Linked DNA regions of Homo sapiens: region 1 is linked to region 2. The links are contacts of gene promoters, found by promoter capture Hi-C in human tissues and cell types (Jung and others, 2019). All regions are on one chromosome and are shown on one strand. Each heading gives the region's core, a stretch centred on a gene start or on the middle of the fragment in contact. The rest is flanking DNA. Distances are from core to core; before and after follow the strand shown. Region 1 overlaps RBMS2 (RNA binding motif single stranded interacting protein 2). Region 2 holds the start of TAC3 (tachykinin precursor 3).

Region 1 (3,712 bases), core at 260-2,759, 440 kb before region 2:
TCATTTTAGGCCAGGTGCGGTGGCTTACACCTGTAATCCCAGCACTTTAGGAGGCCAAGGCAGGCATATCACCTGAGGTCAGGAGTTTGAGACCAGCCTGGCAAACATGGTGAAACCCCGTCTCTACTAAAAATACAAAAATTAGCCAGACGTGGTGGCGCATGCCTGTAATCCCAGCTACTCAGGAGGCTGAGGCAGGAGAATTGCTTGAACCTGGGAGGCAGAGGTTGCAGTGAGCTGAGATCGCACCACTGCACTGCAGCCTGGGGAACAGAGTGAGACTCTGTCTCAAAAAAAAAAAAAAAAAAAAGGTTCATTTTATTATAGGTTACAATACTCAAAAACCCATTAGCCCCACCTAAATATTTTTTTTATAAAGATGGGGTCTTGCTGTGTTGCCCAGGCTGCTCTTGAACATCTGGGCTCAAGTGATCCTCCTGCCTCAGCCACCTAAGCAGTTGGGATTACAGGCATGAGCCACCACACTCGGCTAAGCTCCCTACTACTTCCTAGGGAAGTACTCTAGGCTTTGTTCCTTTAATCCAGACCCAACCAGAGTAAAAAATTCTGTATATTCTTATAGTTTACTGAGTATTTCTCATCTTGTCTCATTTAATCTTTACAACATCCCTGTGAGATAAATATTCTCTATCTTACAGATGAGGAAAGTGAACTCTTCAGTAGAAATGATTTGCCCAGGGTCTTACAGGAGTGGGTGTTAGAGCAGAGCCCTGATCCTTCTGGCTTTGAGAGCAGTAGGATGAGGTAGAAGTTTTGATCTTCCTTTTCAGATCTGTTGGGAGACCTGTATTCCAGAACAATTCTGCACCTGTGATATCAGAGCTTGTGAGCCTTGGTTCACTCTCTGAAGTGGAGATTGATTCAGATGAGTAATTTTCCCACAGTATTCCCTATACCTGCAGTTTTCCCAGGTGCCCTTCTTTGGGCTTTGGTATCTGCCCTCACTGTCGTAGGGTATCAGCCTCCCTTAGCCCACTTAAGAAATGGCTCTGCTTTTATTTATTTTAAGATTTTATTTGAAAGGAGATTCTTTTGACTTTTTTTTTTTTTTTTAGTTTCAAAATGACTGGACTAAGTGAGCCAAGCACCCCTTTTTGCTTTATATCTTGTCTGGTCCGTGAACACCCCCTTACTCTGAGTGTTTCAGACCTTGGGAACAAGAAATAGTTTCTCTTGGCTGGGCGTGGTGGCTCACGCCTGTAATCCCAGCACTTTGGGAGGCTGAGGCGGGTGGATCACCTGAGGTCAGGAGTTTGAGACCAGCCTGGCCAACCTGGTGAAACCCCGTCTCTACTAAAAATACAAAAATTAGCTGGGTATGGTGGCGGGCTCCTGTAGTCCCAGCTACTCGGGAGGCTGAGGCAGGAGAATCACTTGAACCCGGGAGGCGGAGGTTGCAGTAAGCCGAGATCGCGCCATTGCATTCCAGCCTGGGCAGCAAAGCGAGACGCCATCTCAAAAAAAAAAAAAAAAAAAAAAAAAAGAAGAAGAAGAAAAGAAATAGTTCCTCTTCCCCAGCTGACTCAAGCTTAGTAGCACCACCTGCTGGCAATCCCGTGTATATCTAAAGGAGAGTTCCTAGGCTTGGGACCATCGAACTTATTTTGCAGGTTGAGCAGAGGTTCTTAACCTTTCTCAGTTTGTGCCACCCTTAGTTATCTAATAGTTTTTCACCCTAGACCAAAAGAAATACCTAACAGTTCAATTTATTAAGTAACTGAATGGTCCACACTTTTTTTTTTTTTTTTTGAGACGGAGTCTCGCTCTGTCGCGTACCACAGGTGCGTACCACCACGCCTGGCTAATTTTTGTATTTTTGTTGTTGTTGTTGTTGTTGTTGAGACGAAGTCTCACTCTGTTGCCCAGGCTGGAGTGCAATGGCACAATCTTGGCTCACTGCAACCTCTGCCTCCCGGGTTCAAGTGATTCTCCTGCCTCAGCCTCCTGAGTAACTGGGATTACAGGCGCCCGCCACCATGCCCAGCTAATTTTTGTATTTTTAGTAAAGATGTGGTTTCACCAGGTTGTCCAGGCTGTTCTCGAACTCCTGACCTCAGGTTATCCAGCCGCCTCAGCCTCCCAAAGTGCTAGGATTACAGGCATGAGCCACTGCGCCCAGCCAGTCCACACAACTTTTTAAAAAAATTTCCTGACAGCAGTAACTTCATGGTCCATACAGCTTAAGAAGTGTTTATGCTTTAACAACTTTGTAGCTGTTTGAAAAAATAATACACAAACATTGAAAGAGAGCATGTCTTTATTTCATTCTAACTATACTTACTAATGGAATATGTGCCTGTTGGAATTGCACAACTTCTCAAAATTTGGTATCAGAATGGACACCTACACACTCATTTCCTGTTACGTATTGGTTTTCTTATGGTATTTGCTTTTGTCATAGCAACTATTTAAACCCAGCTTTGTGAAAATATGATGTTATCTATCAAAAGGATTGTAGGGGGAACTAATGTTGAAGCAGTGTACAATTTTGAGTTAGTAGTGCACACATTCTCCAACAGATATTGCTGTTTTTCTTCAAAGAGTTAAAATAACCCTCGTTGTGACCCTCTGAGTTCACCACAGCCACCCACAGTGCCTGAGAGCACAGTTTAGGAACTGTGGCTTTAGAGACTTTTGAAAAACTATGAAATCTCTTATATGTTTCTATGTTAATGTCTACAAGTTTTCTTCATATATTCAGATTCATGCAAAGTATGATTTCCAGCAAATTATAAATATTGGCATTTAAAATAAAACTGTTACTTCGTTTAAAAATGTATTCAAATGAGATCTAAATATCATAGCAATCTGATACACAAATCATTCATTTAAAAAATACCTGACTTTGGCCGGACTCCGTGACTCACGCCTATAATCCTAGCACTTTGGGAGGCCGAGGCGGGCGGATCATGAGGTCAGGAGATCGAGATCATCCTGGCTAACATGGTGAAACCCCATCTCTACTAAAAATACAAAAAATTAGCCGGGCGTGGTGGCGGGCGCCTGTAGTCCCAGCTTACTCGGAAGGCTGATGCTGGAGAATGGTGTGAACCCGGGAGGCGGAGCTTGCAGTGAGCCCAGATTGCACCAAGGCGCTTCAGCCTGGGCGACATGCACTTCAGCCTGGGCAACAGAGTGAGACTCGTCTCAAAAAAAAACCCGACTTTGGGAGGCTGAGGCGGGCAGATCACTTGAGCTCAGGAGTTCAAGACCAGCCTGGGCAACATGTGAAACCCCATCTCTACAAAAACAAAACAAACAAAAAAAATTAGCTGAGCATGGTGGCACGTGCCTATAGTTCCAGCTACCTGGGAGGCTAAGGTGGGAGGATCACCTGAGCCCAGGAGGTCAAAACTGCAGTCAACCATGATCACACCACTGCACTCTGGCCTGGGCTACAGAGTGAGACCCTGTCTCAATAAATAAATCAATACAGGAATATGGGTAGGGCTGGAGGCAGATGGGGTGGGTCTTGCCCTGGGGATGGAGCTATGGGCCCATAGGACCCCCAGCCACTTCCTAGTCCCCCTTACCCCTACACCCCCCCTCAAAAAAAAAGGGCTATTTTTTTTTAAATTAAATACAGTAGTCTCGGCCAGGCATGGTGGCTCACGCCTGTAATCCCAACACTTTGGGAAGCCAAGGCAGGCAGATCACCTGAGGTCGGGAGTTCGAGACCAGCCTGACCAAC
Region 2 (3,427 bases), core at 397-2,896:
AGGCAGTTAAACTTCACACATTGAATTTGTAATAAGTCCCACCCGCAATCATCTTAAAAGCATTTGTACCGATGTAATTGCTGTCATTTCAAAACCTTGAAAAGACTTCCTCCCTATCCTCCCCCTGTACCCCTACCCTGACAATTCCTATTCTTTTTCGTAAAGGAACTGTGGAAATCGAGGCTCAATCTGGTTTTTTTGCTGTTGTTGTTTTCCTATCCTGACTAAGCAGAGGATAGAGGCGGGCAAGGGAGAAAAGAGAAGAAGGAAGGGGTTGGGATCTTAGAAGCACCTGAGGTTACTGGGGGTGGATGAGCAAAAGATAAGGGAATTTATTTGCATTTTGAAAATAAAACAATACACATAACTGATAGGTAAAATAGCACACAAATAACCATTTGGGAAAGAAATTCTGACTGTTTCATACCATCCAGGAAATAGAAGAGATCTGTCCCTTGCAAAGGGACCTGAGGTAGACTATAGAGAGCCTTAGACCACCCTAGCTCACCCCTCACAGTACCATCCAATCACCAAGTCTCCCATCAATCAACCCACCAAACAACATATTTGTAGGGCACCTTTTATGTACAAGGTGTCAAAGACATGCAGAGATACAGAGACACAAACACACCTGGAGACAGTGGGAACATGAAAGGACCAGAGAAACAAAGAAATCCAAAGGGAGGCAAAATGCCCTCTGACGGACAACCCCCCCACCCCAGTTTCCTCACTACAGCTGTCCAGACAGGCAGAGTCCCAAGTTCCCGTGATGTCCCCAGTACTCTGCCAGGGGAGACTTACCTTGCTGCGGCCCCCGCCAGGAACCACCTCCTCCTGTGGCTCCTTACAGACAGCCCCAAAGCTCTGAGCTAGGCTGAAGGCCAGGATGGCTGTGAATAGCAGCATGATCCTCATGGTGCCTGGGAGAGCAAAGGGACAGGACTCAGGTAAAGGAGAGAAGAGGAAGATACAGCATGGGTGAAGACACAAGAGACATTCATTACCAGCAGCTTGGCTTGACCCTGCTTCCCCAGCCCCCAACTCCACTGTCCAAGCCCTGGTCTGGAGAGAGGGTGGAAAGTATTTCTGAGAAGGGGGTACAGCCCTTGGGCTTAGTTTCCCTGCTACCCCATCAGATATCTCCCCAGGAGATGTGCAATGCTATAGTGGTGCCAGGAGGACTCTAGCTCCCAAGAAAGATGATAGATTTGTAGGACATGGACTGGTCTGTTTCCTCAGTCAGCTGGAGGAGGGATCCTGGATGCTATTTTCCAGTACTAGATAATCCCAAGACTTAGGCAAAAACTTTCTGGTATGAAAGAATGAGTCTGTAGCCACAGGCTCCAAACACCAACCAGCTCTCGGCCCTACAGGTGCTTTGTGCTCACCTTCCCAGTCCCCTGCTCCCCTATCAGAGGCTGCCATCTGCTTTATTCCCTCCTGACGCTGGCTCCTGTCCCCTGGTGCCAGCTCTGGTCCATCCAGCATTCTCCCACTTGCCTACCTGTGGAGCAGCTCTGTGCCGGGGGCTGGGTGGTCTGGCAGGATCAAGGAACTGGCTAGGACCGCTGCCTGCTCCCCTCACACACTGGTGCTGCCGGTGCTCCTGCAAAGAGAGAAACCGAGTGGAGGGGATCTAGGAAGGCTGCAGTCACTCAGTCCCAGCTCCCTGATAAAGGCTCTGGGAGGGTCTAGGGGAGCTGAGGGGAGGGGCTGAGAGTCACCAATCCCAGGGTGGCTGGAGGGGAGGCGGGGAGGCTGTAGGGGGGAGGAGGATGCAGACAGTAGCCACACACCCAGACACACACATACCCCACAGACCCAGCAGTGAGACCATTTCCTAACAGCACCCGAGCTGGCTGCTGTGTATGGTTTGTGTACAGTTTGACACTGCTGGGGCTTAGAGGACAATACTCCAAAATGAAGGCCTCAATAGCCGCCTCAGAAGCAGAAGTTTTTCTCTGACCCTCTCTTGTCCTCTTGTCACTCGGTTCCATTCTCCCCCAAGACCAGCTATAAAAACCAGAACCCCTTTGCCCCAAAGCCAGCCATAAAACCTAAAATTACTCTATGTAAAAACTGGCCAAAAAAATTATCTGACCGGCCGAGTGCAGTGGCTCACGCTTGTAATCCCAGCACTTTGGGAGGCCGAGGCGGGCGGATCACGAGGTCAAGAGATCGAGACCATCCTGGCCAACATGGTGAAACGCTGTCTCTACTAAAAATACAAAAATTAGCTGGTCATGGTGGCGCGTGCCTGTAATCCTAGCTACTCGGGAGGCTGAGCCGAGATTGCACCACTGCACTCCAGCCTGGTGGCAGAGCAAGACTCCATCTAAAAAAAAAAAAAAATTCAGAAAAGATGACACTCACCCCTTTTTTGGGGTCTCCTACTTTCGTTGTGGAGTTTCACGAGTCATGGGCAGATTCTTCTCAGGTCTAAAGCTCTGCTCTCTTCTACACTACATTACCTAATCTCTTTGGTTTTTGAGGATGCCAAAAATAAATTACTTTGTATTATTTAAAAAACTAGACATATAGCTAGTCATATATAATAACTAGATAAAAAATACAGTTTTAGAGATGACTTATGACAGTTATTCACAACAAAGTATTACTACTATACAGGGCTACTTATTTCTTCGTGCATTTAAATTTTTAAAAACATGGTCTGGGGCACCTAAAGACAATGAAAGCACTCACCATTGAGGATGAAACTCCCATTAAAAATAGGCTAAGCACGCCAGGCATGGTGGCTCACGCCTGTAATCCCAGCACTTTGGGAGGCCGAGGCGGGCGGATCACTTGGGGTCAGAAGTTCGAGACCAGCCTGGCCAACATGTTGAAACCCCATCTCTACTAAAAATACAAAAAATTAGCTGAGCATAGTGGCTGGTGCCTGTAATCTCAGCTACTTGGGAGGCTGAGGCAGGAGAATCGCTTGAACCCACGAGACAGAGATTGCATTGAGCCGAGATCACGCCATTGCACTCCAGCCTGGGCAACAGAGCAAGACTCCACCTCAAAAAAAAAAAAAAAAAAAAGACTAAGCACAGAGTGGGCTAATCGGCACTGGGCTGCCTGCCAGCCTTGGGGGAGCATCTTTACAGTGGGGCACTCGATAAAAATGCCACACATCTCGTCCCATGACATTTCCCTCTTTTGGGGGGCCTAGGATTCAATATAAAAATGAGATCCTTGATTAGGGGGGTTCTGTATTCTGCCTTCCAGCTATGCCTGCTTTACCCATTTAAATATGAGGCCCTAAAACCTATGTTTTCTTCCCCCTTTTTATTAAAGGGCTCCACCCTAAAGGCAATAATCTAATTAAAAAACAAGCTAGTTAAAAAGCCCAAAATACAACTTCCTAAAAAAAAAAAAAAAAAAAAAAGGCCGGGCACAGTGGCTCACGCCTGTAATCCTAGCA

The links. Contacts are between HindIII fragments. The study calls those that stand out against the background at their distance.
Region 1: a fragment that was not itself captured here is called in contact with the fragment with the promoter of TAC3 in region 2 in 1 of the 25 tissues and cell types used here (aorta).

The regions. Positions count from the first base shown.
Region 1 is chr12:56,571,999-56,575,710 of GRCh38, forward strand. The region is part of intron 5 of RBMS2 (RNA binding motif single stranded interacting protein 2); the gene reads left to right. Among named protein-coding and RNA genes, the nearest start is that of RBMS2, 52 kb to the left of the region's middle. The HindIII fragment of the contact is 8,132 bases long and covers 1-3,712 here.
Region 2 is chr12:57,014,883-57,018,309 of GRCh38, forward strand. TAC3 (tachykinin precursor 3) reads right to left here and starts at 1,647. Exons shown (of 7, transcript NM_013251.4): 1 at 1,505-1,647; 2 at 802-920. The coding sequence starts at 915. The HindIII fragment of the contact is 18,684 bases long and covers 1,189-3,427 here.